Regions from separate parts of the Homo sapiens genome. Here regions 1, 2 and 4 are each linked to region 3. The links are contacts of gene promoters, found by promoter capture Hi-C in blood cells and fetal thymus (Javierre and others, 2016). All regions are on one chromosome and are shown on one strand. Each heading gives the region's core, a stretch centred on a gene start or on the middle of the fragment in contact. The rest is flanking DNA. Distances are from core to core; before and after follow the strand shown.

Region 1 (4,050 bases), core at 1,265-3,764, 1.0 Mb before region 3:
ATTCCGAGACTAAATACATTGAATTTGCCTCAAACAATGTTTAAATAAGGCTACTATCAGCAGACCAATCTGCAACATTAACTTCACCCATTTAGTCAGCTGTGACAAAGTCCCAAAGTATAGATAACTAGGATATAATTTCTTATCCATTATACATGGAAGTTTAGATTGATACGCTAATCTTTGTTTTAATTCTCAAAAAGAGTCCAAAAAGTAGCCACCATTCCTAATGGAAAGATGTTCTGTCCCACCTATTCCCAGACATAAGCATAACCCAACAGGTTAATCCAGTTTGGAATTTATTGTTAAACTTGATTTGGATCAGCATTACATCACTTTTGTTGTAGGATCCTTGGGGTGTTGCTTTTCTGACCAGAAACCTCTGTGGTTGGTGGTGCCTTTACTCAAGTTTTGCATGGGCCCCCTGGACTCATTCCACTTACTTGGCCTGGAAGACTATGCTCAGCTCATGCTACCGGCCTGGATCTTATGCTTGCCAAGGGCGAGTCAGGCATGGAGCAGTAAGGGATGTGTGAGGAAGTGTGGGGTCTTGCCACTGCACAGTCAGACATGCTGGCTGCTGCAGTGAGGTGGGCAGTGCTGGCATGGGTGCCAGCTGTCTACAAGACTGAGGCTAGACCAGTTGCACTGCAAGCAGCATTGACTGCTGGCACTGGGGAACACGGTGGCACTCAAAAGCTTGGAGATGCCAGGAACCATAGGGTCCCAAAGAGGGGGGTCATAGCCCTGACTTGGGGAGCTCTCAGGTCTGGGCTTCCCACAGGGCCACAGCACTTCTCTCCTTTTTTTTACCCACAATGTGGCAAACACGGGACATGTTTCAGCCCTGTTTGTGGAACAGCTCTTTTAGCCCCACCATTTGATGGGTTCCAAGTTCTTGTCCTGCAACCAGGAAGAATGAGGTACACAGTCAAGTGGAGGGTGAGCAAGATGAAGTAGAGCTTTATTAAGTGATAGAACAGCTCAGAGGAGACCTGCATTGGGTAGCTTCTTTCCACAGCTAGGGTGTTCCAATGAGTGTTCAGCTCGTAGCAGAGAGGAGACCCTGGAGTGGGAAACTCCTCTCTGCAGGCAGGCTGTCCTGTTGTCTCTGTAGCTCTCAGCACAGAGGAGGCCCTGGGGTGGGTAGCTCCTCTCTGCAGCTGGTTGTCCCAGTGTCTGCAGCTCTCAATAGAGAGGAAGGCTTGTAGTGGTTAGCTCCTTTCTGCTGCTGGTCATCCTGAGGTCTGCTCAGCTCTGGCTGAGCCTGGGGCTTTTATGGGCCTCAGAAGGGAGGAAGTGCATGCCCAATTTATCCATGGGCAGCCATGGGCAGGCCCAGAAAAGGCACCACAAGTTCCCATTCCAGTCTGTGGGACTGGCAGCCTGACACCCAGCCTTCAGGCCCTCCTTGGCCTGAAGGTGTGACCTCACTGGGGACCCACCACTTCCACCCAGAAACCTGTCTGCCTCCTACTGTCATTCTTAGTGCCCAGATGGTAGGTGCCAAGGAGTGCCTTCAGGCCAGTGCCCCCTTGGCTTCCCTCTTATGCTTGTCAGTGCCCAAAATCTGGAGGGTGTCAAGGTGGCAGAGGGCTGGTGTGTGAACACTTCCCCTAGTGTGTGCACACTCTACTGTGCTGCAACAGTGCCTGGGCTTGGCCTCAACTTTGCTCTGAGATCAGAGTGGATGCTGACAACAAGGAGAAGCCAGGCAGTGAGAGTGGGTACTTCTGAGCCTGTGAAGGCAGGGAGGGCTTCCCAGGCCCTCAAGAGTACAGAGAAGCCTCGGTCCACAGCTGCAGTTTGGGAAGCTGTAGCTGCCCACAGAGGGAGGTTGAGGGGGCAATGCTCCTGCCTGCCCCATGGAGCAGAAGTCCTGGGTTTGCAGCCTTGACTTGGGTGGCTGCAGCTTCACTGAGAAGGGTGGGGCTCCTGCCTGCTCCTGGTTTCCCCAAGAGCATAGGGAGGCCTAGGTCTGCAGTCACGACTTGGGAAGCTGCAGCTGTGCCTGGAAGGGCAGGGTTCCCTCCTGCTCCTGGGCAGAGAAGACAGTGATGCCCCTGAAGCTGTGGCTTGGGCAGCTGCAGGGCACCTGGGGAGCTCCTGCTCCAACTCAGAAGGGGCAGGGCTCCTGCTTGTCCCTGGTTCCATGGAGTATGCAGCCCCAGCCATGCCTCCCTGCTGTGATAGTAGTGGCCACTCCAGATGGCCCGCTGCTGCCATCACTTTTGTTAAGCTATATGAGCAGTGCCATTGAGTATTTGCAACCTCTGTAGCCATTCATGGCATAACCCAAGACTTTTCAGACATCAGGAGAAGCATATACATTTGTATGAGTCAGATTGAGACAAAGTTGTACTGATTTCTATGTTTGTACACAGACAAGGATGAAGAATCTATGTTGGGAAGCTGCTATTGATGTATGTATTGCAGAAATTTTCAGGACAGGCCATATTCACAGGAGTTTTACTATTTCAAGGAATGTGGAAGAAGATGACAAACCAAGAGCAGATTGGATAGCCAGCTGCAGCTGCCGCTTGGCTCCAGCAGACCATATAATTGTCTTGCTAGGCTGTGGTGCTTGACCTAGAATACAAAGAGTGAATTAATTCTCCGCTCCTCCACCTCCCGGTCTAAGATTTTCCCTTCCTAGGTGCCAGTGTTATTGCTCTTTGTCCACCATCACAAAATCGGTTCATCCCATTCTAGTAGCTATAACTTTGCCTTTTTTTTGTAGTCAGTTCCTAGTCACACCAAAATCATTTGCCTAGAACAAATAGAAAGAGGAACAGGCATTTGTATGACATTTACAGAGATTCATCATAATTACCACCTTGGCCTTCCTGGAAAACTGAACGGGAACTTGTAAAGCTGTGCACTCAAATAAATGCTGGTTATCCTCATGATGTAAAATCATGTTTAACCAAGAAAAGAATATAGGTGGCTGAACTGGAATTCAATATTAATACCATTCTGACAATGTTGCTGCCTGGAGAGTGTACCAACCAGGCTGTTCTAAGGTCGCTGTTCGGAGAAAGAAAGAAGCATCATGCCTTTCACTTCTAGAATGTTAGAGGAGGTGTACTTTTTTCTATTACTGTTAGATACAGCTAAAAATTCTGGACATTATAGATGTTCCTTGAATTGAAATGAGATTACTTCCCAGTAAACTGATTGTAGTTTAAAATACCATAGGTATAAAATGCATTTAATACATCTTATATACTGGACATCATAAGATTTCCTATCCTATGTTAATCATGCTCAGAACACTTACATTAGCCTATGGTTGGGCAAAATCATCTAACACAAAGCCTATTTTATAACAAAGTGTTGAGTATCTCATCTAGTTTATTGAATAAAGTACCCAAAGAGAATAATAGAAAGGTTGTATTGGTACACAAAGTGCAGTTTGTTCTGATTGGGTATTGCTTTTGCACCATGAAAAAAATCATAAGTCAAGTCATCATTAAGTTAGGGACCATTTGTATATAAAATCAAAAGATAAAAAGTTTCTAAAAGATAGAGAGAAAAAGCCAGATTGTCTAAGAAATTTAGGACCTGAACAATGCTAGAACAGTGAGTTTCATGAGTTTCCTTTTGCCTCATACAAACCAGTGGCATCCAGGAGTAGCCAGTAACCTGGTAATGCCGGTGGGTACAGAAAAGAAATCCCAAAGAAATGCCGTTTTCTGTAGCCAAAGGACCAGGGAAAGGATTGACTATGAAGGCAGAAACTATAAGACCATAACCATTCTACTCTAGCCAAAGACCACAAAAAGTTTTATAGCAACCAAGCATACATTTAATCAACAAAAAGTTAACTGCAACGTAGCAGGAGAGATTTGTGATAGTGTAACTTTCTTTTGCTCCATCTTTCCATCACTGGCTTGAAAATAGTCTTTAAATGGCATCCGGCATTCCCAGTGTGGGTGTCTGGGGCTGGAGGAAGCAGAGTAGACCCGTTATCAAAGAATAGTGCCTGACTATGTTGACCTGTCAGGTGGTTTTCTGAAGGGCTAATTCAAAGGGCTTTCCTGTATTCAT
Region 2 (4,361 bases), core at 459-2,958, 980 kb before region 3:
TTTTGCTTTCTGTGTGCACATGCCACAGGTTCCTGCAGCATGAGAGGCTTCTCCAGCGTCCGGCTCCTGCAGTGCACCCACACCAGGTTCCTGCGCTGTACAGTGGCCAGCAGTGTCCTCCAGCACTTCCATTTTTGCGTGGTACTGCAGAACAGAGCCTGCAGTGAGACACCTTCCTGTATCCAGCTTTCCCCATATTCATCCCTAGATTCATGAATCGGCACCCTAGATTATGGTTTTCTGGTAAGTATGAGAGGGTGAATTTCTCTGTAGAAAATTCACAGCACAACAGTGACTTCTGTGTCATCTAGTGAGACACAGTTGTGCCTTTCCCAATAAGATCTGGGTCTCACCCCTGGGGGGTGGGTCTAGGGGTCCCTTCTTGGGGTGTTGTACCCAGCCCTAGGAGTAGGGACTGCACCTTATATCTGCTATTCCTACAGGAATAGGAATAGCAGAGTTTTCTTTTCTTTGTATTACCTATTTCCTTGTTACTCTAAATCCTGTTATAATTAATAATTTTTTATATTAATATTAAATTTTCCTATAATTATAAAAAGCATTTTCTGTTCAAATTATTATATGGTCTATCTTTCCTGATTGGACCAGATTTATACATGCACCAAGGATCTCAAGCCACTGAAGAGCATCTCCCCACCCAGTCACCTGACAAATCTAGTTGCTTGCTTGTTTTATTTATTGCTCATTTGTTTTATTTATTTATGGTTTATTATTTTACTTATTTATTGTTTTACTTATATGATTACAAGAAACTTTATGCAATAAAGAATTACATTAAGAAGAATTTGGAAATATGTTTTTATATTAATGAAATTAATTTTGATTTTTCACATTTTGTGCATGTTTGACACAAAATTTTATTATACCATTGAGGCAAATTATAATTCCTTTTAAATGTATTTTAGCTTACAACACAAATTGTCTTTCATTCACTAATGAGACTGTGTCTGAAGATTTTAAATTCCAAGTCATTTTTCATTCATCTAACTCTGTTAATTATCCTTATTTTTGATTTCTTTAAAATGGAGGGAAAAGACCATGATAACTTTAAAACAATCTGAAGACAGAATACTTCTAACACCCAGAAAGTTTTTGTGTGTGCCTTTCCAGTCAACCCACCTTCTGGAGGCAACAGATGTTCATATTTCTAGTATTACAGAGACTTTAACCGTTTTAAAACTTCGAATCAATGGGATTATTCAGTAGGAACTCTCTTCTGCCTGGTTTCTTTCACTCGTCATGTTCTGGAGGTTAATCCGTGTTCATTACCGTAATTGTTGAGAAGTTTCCTATTATATGAATAAAGCACAATTTATTTATTCATTTGGCTGTGCACACCATTGGCTGATTACAGAATCTTTTAGGGATTAAAGCTTTGGTAGCATTCTTTTTTTTTTAATTAGATTCAGGGGTTACATGAGCAAGTTTGTTACATGGGTTCACTGCGTGATGTTGAGGTTTGGGCTTCTAATGATCTTGTAGTGAACGTAGTAACCTATAGATAGTTTTGCAACACTTTACCCTCCCCCCATCTCCTCCCTTTTGGAATCCCCAGTGCTTATTGTTCTCATCTTTGTGTCCTTGTGTACTCAATGTTTAACTCCCACTTATAAGTGAGAACATTGTGTATTTGGTTTTCTGTTTCTGTGTTAATTCCCTTAGGATAATGGCCTCCAGCTTCATCCATGTTGCTGCAAAGGACATGATCTCATGCTTTTTATGGCTGTGTAGTATTTTGTGGTGTACATTTACCACATTTTCTTCATCCAGTCCACCACTGGTTGGAATTTGGTAGCATTCTTGGTGCAAGGTATAGGCTGTCCTAGATTTTTATATGCCGTTCAGGCAATGGTAGGGTGTGTCTCTGAAGTTCTATAGTTGAAATCCATATCTTAAATACTTTTATTTAAAAACCAATTCCTAAATTTCATTATGCTATTTAACATGTCACTAATTTTTCTAATAAAAACCCAATATCTGATATTTCCTGTGCTACTTATAAAAGCTTCAGGTATCATTCAAGCTGTGGGTAGCTGAACTGTAGTTTCCTCTGTTGTGGCCTTACGTGTTGATAACAACAGTAGCTGACCGCCTTGGAGTTTGCTTTCTTGACTAAGTGAATTGACTCTCCTTAGAGTTGAGACTTAAGTTAACCAGCTCATGCTTGATATTCTGTGGTTTCTGTTGAAAAGATTTAATGTAAATTATATAACCTAGCACTTTAGTATATTTATTCTTACTTGGTAACATATATATATATATATATATAAAATGAACAATATTTTGATAAGTGTTCCTGCAAATCCTGAAGATCTATAAGTCATGTAATTATAATCCTTGCTCAACAGTCATTCCAGAGAACTCATTTAATATTTAGAGGCATTTTGCTATATACAGTACATATGAAAATATTTTAAAGCTTGTTAGGTAACTTATAAAGGAAATTTCGCTGTTATTTAATATCACATATGCAGCACATCCAATACAAATTTCCAATCGTTTAAGCACAATAATAAAGTTGTCAAGATAATTAGAGGTCTGTACAGAATTCTCATGGGGATATCTAAGACAAGGGAGCACTTTTATTCAGGAAACAAGTGCACCAAAACATGAGTGTAAAAGGTAGAATGTTAAGATGCTGAAGATACTTTATATGTATATTTATGACTTCAAGTTGCTCTGTGTGATATATTTCATATAACTGGATATTAAAAATTTACCTTCACATTAATTTTCTAGAGCTGCCATGACAAATACCACAGACGGGGTGGCATAAGCAACAGAATCTGTTTTTCTCTCAATTCTGGAGATAGAAATCCAAGATTAAGGCATTGGCAGGGCAGGTTGTTATTGAGGCTTGCAGATGGTTGCCTTCTCACCGTGCCTTCAGGTGGTCTCTCCTCTCATGGTGCACATGTCTGTATCTGGATTTCCTTTCTTACAAGAACACCAATTATGTTGAGTTAGAGCCCAGCTATATAACCTCATTTTACCTTAATGACCTCTTTAAAGATCCTGTTTTCAAATACAGTTTCATTCTGATGTACTGGGGATAAGGGCTTCAACATGTAAATTTTGGATGAGACACGGTTTATTCTGTGGCAACCCTCCAGGGAAATAAATATCAAATTAATGAAGAAGACAATTAAAGCCTCTCTTGACACAACACTTTGCTAATTGCTGGCGCACACAATGATCATATATAATTTTGATGATGAATTTTCCCTGCTTTCTTTTGTGATTCTAGAGCAATTAGAAATGTGCAATAACAGATGCAGATACTTCCTAAATATTTCAAATTGTAAAGGAAGTAGAGAGTACAATGATAAAAATGTAAAAGCTATTATTTAGACTTGCCTTCTTTCTCTCTGCTACATTAGGATATGGAATTTTCTCATGTTAGGTTTGTCCTTTTCTGCAGCTAAATCTTAATTTCTTTTTGGTTTTCCATCTCAGATAGTTTTCCTTTCTTTCTCTACTCTTTTCTGTATGAATGTTGAGTTTTTTACCTTGTCTTTTTTTTCCTCTCTCTTGTCTCTGATCTCAACTTTGCCAGAGCTATTTTAGCAGACTAACTTGCTATTCTTATCTTGCACTACTCTTTTACTACCTAATCAGCAGAAGTGACATTTAAAAGAAGCGAAAAGGATTGAAATTCTTTTGGAAGTTGTTTATGGCAGGTGCAGTGGGTTAAGTAGATGAGGGAGGGGTGCTATAGTCCTTGAATACAGAGGCAGCAGGAAGAATCCCATCCTATATGCTCAGCTTTCTTGGGGCTTGTTGTCTGTTTTTTCAAGCAGTATGTGGCAAGATTTTTAATTTTGATTGAATCATAGTCTTTTTAAAAATATGTTTCGATTACTGATACATTTGGATTCATTTTAACGTTTTGGCTCTGCTCAGCATGCTCTTGATTTGTTCTTTCGTGTTTTAGTCTGTCTTCTGTTGCAGTGATAGTTTTCTTTTTTCTTTCTATTGTTTTAGAAAGTGTAAATTGTATTTTTTGTTCCTAAAAGTATCCTTATATTATATATGTATACATATATATAATTTTTAAATACCCAAAGTTGTTATTATTTTTTCCTGAAGTTATTCCGTAACATTTTTTCCTTGTATGTCCCCCTCTTTCTCCTTGGGTATATTTTTTTCTCCTTTTGACTTACTGTCTTTAGAATTACTTCTGTAGCTAATTGGAAGAAACTATACACATACTATATATATGAAGACAGTAATTTTAGAGTTTATCAAATTAGCCAATAAACTAGAGCTCCAATGCACACTAACAAAAGTAATAAAAAAGAAAACCATTCAACACAATAATGGGAACATGAATTCATTCC
Region 3 (4,668 bases), core at 574-3,073:
CGCTTAAACTCGGGAGGTAGAGGTTGCAGTGAGCCAAGGTCACACCATTGCACTCCAACCTGGGCGACAGGGCGAGACTCCGTCTCAAAAAAAAAAAAAAATTTACCTCCTTTGCAGGCCATAGGACTAGCCCAACTATGAGAAATAGCTGTTCTGTGAACGTGAAAAGGGGACAGCAGTTTTCCCAGTTTTGGCCAGGCAGTCAAGCCTTTAACAGCTCATGCACAGTTTAGGCCATGTACAGCTGGCATCTAATAAATGTTTTCATGAAAAAGATTTTCTAGCCAAGGTCCCTTTTTTGGCAAGCATCTGGTGTCAGTCTTCCTAAGATTCAGATATGTGGTCCAGGAGGTTACCCCCACTGGGAAGGCTGATGTGGGAAGAATCATACCTGGGTGTTGCGTGTTCTGCCGAGAGTGGGGTCCTGAGGTCTCCATGGTTCTGAATGCATTCCAGAGATTGGTTGAAGAGGGGCCTGTACCTCCCAACCCCAGCTTGTGTAGGAAAGCCCTACATAAGGGCTCAGCCCTCAGTCACTGTGGGGTAGGTAGCTGTTTAATAACACACACCATATACCTCCCACAAACCTGGAGGCTCCACAGGACCTGAAAAGCTTTTCATTTTATTGATCATGAATCTGAGGGCAAAAGACCTTTGTTTTCATTACAATACTGAGCACTAGACTTCTATTCTTCTGCCACAGAAGTGCATCCCTAGGATTTCTGGAGCTTCCTACCTGACCTAATTTCTGTCCACCCTCCTCTATTCCTTCCTTTGCTTTCTTCTCCCTTCCTCCTCGCACTACCTCTGTCCTCTCTCACTGGCCAAATGCAATTCTTGGATCTTAGATTTCGCTGATAGTCTAGTTTTCTGTCTCCCACACTTTTCCTGCTTCTGTTGTGCTTCTTTTCCAGACCTGTCTAGTTCCCAACTCATCTGTCTCCCTTTCTCACGGTCAGCTTTATCCTGCCCTCTCCCTTCCCTACATACCTCCACCTTTTGTTCTGAGTCCAGTAAGTCCCTAAAGGAGATTATAACTCTTTAAGAATTGCCTCCTTTTTCAGTGTAGAGGTGGAACTAAACCCCAGAGTCCCAACTCCCAATCCCTTCTTTTACAATAATTTCACCCAACTTGATTTGCTTTCCCCCAGATCCCACGGCCTTGTACCCTTTTCCTCCCAGCGAGTTCCAATTAAAGGTGCAGCCACATTACAAATGACAATAAAGGAATCACCTTTGTCTTTCTACAAAGGTTGGAGCCACAGATCCGGTATGGTTGTGGGGTTTGTTGTTGGTAGTTGGGTTATAGTTTGGATTTTTTAGCAGCAGAGGGAGGGACATAGACAGTTGTCTACAGGGCCCAGAAGATAACCCCCTATTAGTAAACTGGCCCCTTCTCCCTCTGCAGGTCTCATGGGCATGGAAGAAGACCCCACCACCATCCCACACTCTGAGCTCCTCGTTGCCCCTAGCCACATAGCCCCCAATAATTCCCACCCTGAGGTGAGACAAATGCTGAATACCAGAGGAATCAAGCCACTCAGAATATGCTTATAGGGACAAAGTCTCCCACATCCCGTCCCCTGGATCCCCCTACAGCCCCCTGCTGTCCATCGCGGCCTCAACCCCTGCAGATGGCAGCCTGCACCACAAAAAGGCAACTTAGAGGTGTTTTTTTTTTTTTTCCTTCCAGTTCTTGGTTGTAATTGGATTCAGGCTAAAACAACCACGTCCCCAACCAGGAAAGGAGGGCACTGGGGCGGGGACGGAGGAGAGGCTGTGGGAGAAGGGAGGGACCAGAGGAGAGAGCGAGAGAGGGAACCAGACCCCAGTTCGCCGACTAAGCAGAAGAAAGATCAAAAACCGGAAAAGAGGAGAAGAGCAAACAGGCACTTTGAGGAACAATCCCCTTTAACTCCAAGCCGACAGCGGTCTAGGAATTCAAGTTCAGTGCCTACCGAAGACAAAGGCGCCCCGAGGGAGTGGCGGTGCGACCCCAGGGCGTGGGCCCGGCCGCGGAGCCCACACTGCCCGGCTGACCCGGTGGTCTCGGACCATGTCTCCCGCCCCAAGACCCCCCCGTTGTCTCCTGCTCCCCCTGCTCACGCTCGGCACCGCGCTCGCCTCCCTCGGCTCGGCCCAAAGCAGCAGCTTCAGCCCCGAAGTAAGTGAGCTTCCCGGCCCTTCCCGGAGTCGCGCCCGCCGGGAGGCGAGCCCGGGGGTCTCCTAGGGGACAGCCTCTATTCGGAGAGGAGGGCTTTTGGGATCTCCGCTGCTCAGGCCTGCAGGATTCCCCCTCCCTTTCTTTTTCCTCTTCGTCTCCAAACTTCCAGATCGATCCAACTTTTGCCCGCTTCCAACCAGCTGCCCCCACCCCCTGCGCCGCCGACTCTCCTTCCCATTCCTTCTTTTTTCCCAGTCCTTGGAAGAACTTTACAACTGGGGCGAACTCCCCCTTCCCCGATTCCCTTGGGCTCTGCTCTCAGCTCTGGAACCGCCTGATAAACATTTGGACTCCGCTCAAACCCCGCGCTGTCCCGGCTCCTCGTCATGCGCGAGAGTTTGTTGTTTCTTCGACTTCCCAGCTCTCCAGCGCTCTCCCGCCGGCGCGCCCTCCGATGGGCGCTTCGGCCTCCCCGGGTGGCCCAGGCCTTCAGCGGACGAGTCTGCGGCCAGGTGGGGGTCGAGGGTGGACGGCCGAGCGTCCAGGGCCACAGCCCCCGTCTCCCCGAGAGGACCCCGCTGTGTCCCTACCCGCATCCCTGGCGTCGAGGGTCGCAGCGCCGGCGCGCTGGCCGCGTTTCCGTACACACAAAGCTCTCCTTGTGAGCCGGGCGATCGGCCGGGTCGCTGCCTCCCCCTATCCCCACCCGCGTCGGCGCCTTCAGGCCCTTTTTGTTGTTAATAGTTTTTCTGTGTTAATTGCAGGGAGCCTGGGGGCGTCGCTTGGGGAATGGGGAGAGGGTCTGGTCCGGGGTGCCCTCACGTCGGGGCTGGCTCGGGCGCCCCCCACCCTCACCCCGGCCCAGACGGTGGCCCACCGGGCCCCAGAGGAAGCTGCGTGGGAGTTGTCTGAGGAGGTTTTTCCTCTCTCTCTCTTATTTTGGGGTGAAGGTGGGAGACGGATTTAATGAGCTTCTTATTTTGGGCCATCTCAACCCACTCAGCCTGGCAAGGGCCTGGGTGCGGTTGGGAGGGGCCAGGAAGGGCCCTAGAAGGGGGATGGGATATGGGTTTGGCTTCTCCTCCTTGGTCCCACCCCGGAGAAAACTCTTTGGAAAGAATACTGTCTTCTCTCTGCGTCCCTGAAAGGGTCTGGGGCCGACTGGAAAAGTATGGCCCCAGGAATCGGGGTGGAAGACGAAACGTGGAGTGCTCAGAGACCAGGGAGAGTAAAAACCTGCCCTGGTGCTGGAGGCTGAGCCTGACTGTCCGGGAGGAGTCGTCCTCTTCCCAGGCCTAGAGTCCTCTGAGACCTGAAAGGGAGCGCCCCTAACAAAACGAGCCTGAGCATCTGGGGAGCTGCCGACCGCCAACTTCACTGCCTTACCTTTTTTCCCTCCCCTGCTTTGCTGGGTCCCCCAGGGGAGGGGCGGCTGCCCTGGCTCCGTTTTAATTGGGTCATGGGCGGTCCCAGTGCCAGAACCACCATTTGCTTCTGGGCCCAGGAAGGGAGGGAGGAGCAGCCCCAGAGGCTAGGATCCAGGGCCTACTGCAGAGCTGGAGGTCCCCCCACCCTCCCCTGGACCCCTAAGCCAAGGTGGGAGGTGTTCCGTTGACTTTCTCCTAGGGGATACCTTGCATCTCTCTCATTCGCAAAGACAAAGCCAGCCGACTGGGTTCTTTGACCCAACATAGTTGCTTTTTTCTCCAGGCCAATGTGGAGGGAAAGCTGGGGTGGTGCAGGCCTCATGCAGCTGGGTCCCTCCTACCAGGCCTCCAGAGTCCTGCACCAGCTCCAGGACAGCCCTCTCCTCCCCATGGCCTGTCTGGCGCTGGGCCCTTCCTCCCACCCAGCCGCAGACACAAGAGTCCTCTCTTCTGTGGTTTCGACCTCATAGTCTCTGTGAGGAGAGAAACTTGCCTAGGCCTGGGGGGAGGAGAGGGATGGGGGCACTTCCTTTCCAGGCCTTGCGGCTCTCTTGACTCCAGGGAAGTCCTTCATTTGACTGAGCCTTCATTTTTCTCCCGAGGGTATGGGGTGGAGGTTGTAGGTGTGAATATTTAGACCCCCCTAGCTTCTTGAACGACTCCAGAGGGGATTTCCCCCAGAGCTCCTGGATGTGGATTCTCCCCATCTCTTCTGTCCCGTCTTCCTTCTGTCGTTCTGTCTTCTCCCCATCTTCCTTCTGTCGTTCTGCTCTAGGCAAATTCTCTCAGCTTTGCTCTCTGAGGGTTGACGGGGCCTGGCCTCAGTCCTCCTGCCTTCCAGCGTCAGTAGACCAGTCCCATCCTTCCCCAAGTCCTGAAGCAGCTGCTCCTCAACCAAGGGTCATAAGCCCGGGGTGTGTTTATCCTGCAGGTATGCTAGGGGCAAAAGACATTTCCTGCATAGTTAGGCACAGGCCACAGCAGGCCTCCCCAGGCACTGGCTGTGGCATCAGCCAGAACAGGTCAGGGCAAGCCTGCAGCTCCCTGAGAGCAGCCCCGGACTGGTGTGGACTGCTT
Region 4 (4,386 bases), core at 1,021-3,520, 930 kb before region 3:
CCCCTTGGGTGTGGCCATCTTCTATAGTCAAAACTGTAGGGGTGAAATAAATCCCAGTCTCCCATAGCACTCCCAGGCTTATTAGGAAGAGGAAATTCCCACCTAATAAATTTTGGTCAGACTGGCTGCTCTCAAAACCCTGTCTCCTGATAAGATGTTATCAATGACAATGGTGCCCGAAACTTCATTAGCAATTTTAATTTCGCCCCAGTCCTGTGGTCCTGTGATCTCGCCCTGCCTCCATTTGCCTTGTGATATTCTATTACCTTGTGAAGTACATGATCTCTGTGACCCACACCTATTCATACACTCCCTCCCCTTTTGAAAATCAGTAATAAAAACTTGCTGGTTTTGCGGCTTGTGGGGCATCACGGAACCTACCGACATGTGATTTCTCCCCCGGACTCCCAGCTTTAAAATTTCTCTCTTTTGTACTCTGTCCCTTTATTTCTCAAGCCAGCCAAAACTTAGGGAAAATAGAAAAGAACCTATGTGACTATCGGGGCAGGTTCCCCAATACGGCAACACCTTCTCTCTTCTGGCATGTCCAGTCCCCCGGCCAAGGCCTCCAGCTGCTCCTAAAGTACTTTTCAGGAGACACTCTGGTTCAAGGCATTGAAGGCTTTGAAGCTGAATTTAAGAGGAGTCAATCTTCCTTCAACCTGAGGAGACCCTCTGTGCATTGGAGTGATGCTGCTGAGTACTTCTGTGCTGCAGGTACCACAGTGCCTGGGTCTGCAGGGGAGCTGAACACAAACTGCCTATGCTAGAGAAGTTTTCAGAGACTCAATGTATCTTCCTGTGGCATTTTCAAAGATCTCTTATTTTTATGATGGTGAGTGAGGCAAAGAGAGCTGAGCACATCCAGCCATTTCTATATAATTCTGCAATTCCTGCTATGTCCCATGTCAGATAAACTTTGTTTTAGAAGCTTTTTGTTAATTGAAGAAACTGCATAATAGGAAATAGTATTCTAGAATGATGGAGGAGACATACTTCTTATCACCTAACAATCAGGTTCTCAAGGACCTTTCCTTGACTGTGACTGCATTAAGTGGTTGACTATGGGAATTTTGATATGGTCTAGGAGAACCTTGGTTTTCATTTATCATTTAATCTCTCAACTAACCCAGAAAACAAAACATAAGTTTCTCATGTTCTTACCTTGCAAGTTGCATCCTTGAGCTGGTCATTCACAGGATATTTTCTTAGAATTTATTTTTCTGGCTCTAACTGCGCAATTCAGATTTCAGGATATTTTGTCTCATACCTCTATTTAGGAGGAATTATGAGAAATTGTTAGCTAACAGTGAAAGTTTCATTAGAATCACGAAGGACTTAGAAAATTGTCACAGTGATGTGAGTTCTGGCAACTAGGAATAGCACACAAGGAGAATGAAGATTTAGAATTCATCAGTGTTTCTCCAAAGACTTTTTCAGTTATAAAAATAGCTTCTATTCTATTGGTATATTAATTATGCAAATCTACATTGTAAGTTTGTCTATGGAATTCCATTCATCTCTTCTAGCTACTGACACTTTTACTTGTTGCTTTCACTCTGTTGTTACATGGTTTCACTATTGAAATATTAAAGATTGATTCTCTTTTTTGAGATAGAGTTTTACTCTTTCACCTAGGCTGGAATGCAGTGGCATGATCATAGCTCACTGCAGCCTTGACCCATGCCCCCAGGCTCAAGCAATTCTCCCACCTCAGTCAGCTTCCTGAGTAGCTGAGACTACAGGTGTGCACCACCATGCCTGGCTAATTTTTTTTTTAATTTTTATTTTTAGTGGAGACAAGATCTCACTATGTTGCCCAGGCTGGTTTCAAACTCCTGAGCTCAAGCAATCCTGCAACCTCAGCCCCCCAAAGTACTAGGATTACAAGCATGAGCCACTGTACCTGGCCAAAGATTGATTCTTATATAGTAACATTTTGATAATCTGTCATGTGGTAAGTTTTGCAATGCCAAGCTCTGCTAGAAATACGGATAAGAGTTACAATGGTACTGGATTCCAGGCGGCTGCTGGAAAGTATAAATATGTGACTTTCTTATGTCTAGAATGGAAAGAACTGTATAAGAAGATTTTATACTCCTTGTCTGCTTGCTGCCTCGGAGGATAACCAGTGCTTCGGAGGAAAAGTAGAAGGAGAAGGAGAGAGCTCTTTAGCTGCCATTTAGCTCACACTATAAATGTCTAAGAGGGTAGGTGCATAGGGACCCTGAAAATATAGATCGAATAAGTAAATTGTGGCCAATGGCACTCCTTAGCCAAATAGTGAACCAAGATATCAACAGTATTTTTTAGGATGTAGTGTTATGAGTACATGTGATAAATATGTTTAAGCGATTTCTGGAATGCTGTGAGGAAGGTGAATGGAGTGTCAGATATATAAAATTATGAAAAAGAAATGTATGCTCATTTAATGTTCCTGCCTCAGTCCCTTCCTTCTTTTCTGTTTTTGGACCACACTCTCATCTACCACTGATAAGGCAAATAATTTCAAGTGACTCATTGTCATCAGCTCAGCCACACTGCCCAAAGGTACTTGTCATAGTATCATGAGCACTTCATGCAGATCGATTTGAGAAAGAACTGCCCGTTTCTTTTGATTCTGATCTCAAACTGAATATTAAAGAAAAATAAATTCCATACCAAGGACCCTGAGCAGCTGGGAGAGCATTCCCCATCTCCCCTACCTCACCTCTGCCTGAAAAATCAAAGTAATCTTCCTTCCTTCTATTAATAATTTGTTGCTTTTATATGAGTACGTGATTTGTAGGAGAAACTTTCCAAAATAAGGAATTATATTAAGAAAGTGGAGATTCTGAGTTATTTTATCAATGATATCAATCATTCTGACTTTTCAGAAAGAATTCTGACTTTTCATGAAATTAACTGATCTTACCACATATTCCATCACCGAGAAGCAGCTGCCCTAATTGAAAGGCGGAACACTTTACTGAAGACCAAGCTAGAGCCCTGACTGGGAGACAACAGCATGTATGCTAAACATTTTCTTCTCTCCCTACATCGTATTTTTTATCTGATATACAAGCTGTTGGAAACAAACTTTATAATTTAGTGTAAAGGTAACAGAATTTTCAGGCTGGGTGAGGTGGCTCACAGCTGTAATTTCAGCACGGTGGGAGGTTTAGGTAGGAGGATCACTTGAGGCAAGGATTTCAAGACCAGCCTGGGCAACATAGCAAGACCACATCTCTACAAACAATTAAAAAAATTAGCCAGGCATGGTGGTGCCCACCTGTAGTCCTAGCTACTCAGGAGGATTGCGTGGGCCCAGGAGTTCAAAGTTACACTGAGCTGTGATCATGACACTGCCCTCTAGCCTGGATGCCAGAGCAAGATCCTGCTTTTAAAAAAAACTTAGGAAGGACTGTCACTGAATTTGAAGAATTATTAATATAATCAGTGATGAAGTCAATGACTTTTGGGATTGTGCATCTTCTCATTTTGGAGAAAGGATGAAAAGTTCTTCAGTTGCAAGATGGAGTTCTGTATCTTGAAGGAGATAGAGGAATAGAATTATTTTGTTGTTGTACATGTTTCAAATGTTTGTAGAAGAATGTGTGTGTTGCATAGGGAAGCTTGAAGTAGTTGAAGGTATCGATTTATTGACTCTCAGCTCCAAATTCACTCCTTGCCTCTTCTGTGAAGGTGAATCTGGAACCTTCGACCATTTTTCTTTGCCAGTTGACACAATGTTAAGCTTTGTAGTAGAGAGTCAGGAAGAAAAAGTTTTGCTTTCTGCTTTCCATGTGCTCACTCATCAGGATCCTGCACCATGGGAGGCACCTGCAGTGCACAGTGCCCTGCAGTTTCCTCCAGAACCCCCCCATTTTAGGGCGATTCTGTGAAAGAGATCCTGCAGTGAGACACCTCCCTGTGAACAGCTTTCCCCAGTGTCCTAGAGGATGATTTTCTGCCATGTTCTAGAGGGTGAATTTCTAGCAAGTTCTGCTGGGACAGCACCACAGCAACTTCCCTTTCATCCAGTGAGCCACAGCTGTTTCTTTTCAATAAGATCTGGGTCTCAGCCCTGAGGGTGGGGCTACAGGCCTCTTCCCTGGTTATCCTACCCTGCCCTAGGAGTAGAGGCTGCACCTTATGTCTGCTATTCCTACAGGAATAGGAATAGCAGAATTTCTTTTCTTCATATTATTCATTCTCTTGTTACTCTAATACTCTGTTTATTAATCCTTAAATTTTTTCTGTTGAAATTCTATGGTTTCTCTTTCCTGATTGGACTCGACTTAGACATGCACCAAGGACTTCAAGCAACTGGAGAGCATCTTCCATCTCCCCGCCCACTCCTGCCTGAGATATCAAAGTAGTTTTCTTGTTTTATTTCTCTATTGA

The links. Contacts are between HindIII fragments. The CHiCAGO score rates a contact against its expected background, and 5 or more counts as called.
Region 1: a fragment that was not itself captured here is called in contact with the fragment with the promoter of MMP14 in region 3 in 1 of 17 cell types (non-activated CD4 T cells); the score reaches 5.1 in non-activated CD4 T cells.
Region 2: a fragment that was not itself captured here is called in contact with the fragment with the promoter of MMP14 in region 3 in 1 of 17 cell types (naive CD8 T cells); the score reaches 5.1 in naive CD8 T cells.
Region 4: a contact is called between a fragment that was not itself captured here and the fragment with the promoter of MMP14 in region 3, in 1 of 17 cell types (activated CD4 T cells). The highest score is 5.5, in activated CD4 T cells.

Annotation. Positions count from the first base shown.
Region 1 is chr14:21,834,296-21,838,345 of GRCh38, forward strand. It overlaps TRA. Among named protein-coding and RNA genes, the nearest start is that of OR4E1, 160 kb to the left of the region's middle. The HindIII fragment of the contact is 3,635 bases long and covers 698-4,050 here.
Region 2 is chr14:21,854,776-21,859,136 of GRCh38, forward strand. It overlaps TRA. Among named protein-coding and RNA genes, the nearest start is that of OR4E1, 180 kb to the left of the region's middle. The HindIII fragment of the contact is 632 bases long and covers 1,393-2,024 here.
Region 3 is chr14:22,834,762-22,839,429 of GRCh38, forward strand. MMP14 (matrix metallopeptidase 14) reads left to right here and starts at 1,824. Exons shown (of 10, transcript NM_004995.4): 1 at 1,824-2,164. The coding sequence starts at 2,057. MRPL52 (mitochondrial ribosomal protein L52) reads left to right here. Exons shown (of 5, transcript NM_180982.3): 5 at 1-276. RefSeq lists a silencer at 1,482-1,698. The HindIII fragment of the contact is 13,873 bases long and covers 612-4,668 here.
Region 4 is chr14:21,903,878-21,908,263 of GRCh38, forward strand. It overlaps TRA and the pseudogene TRAV8-5. Among named protein-coding and RNA genes, the nearest start is that of OR4E1, 230 kb to the left of the region's middle. The HindIII fragment of the contact is 2,683 bases long and covers 930-3,612 here.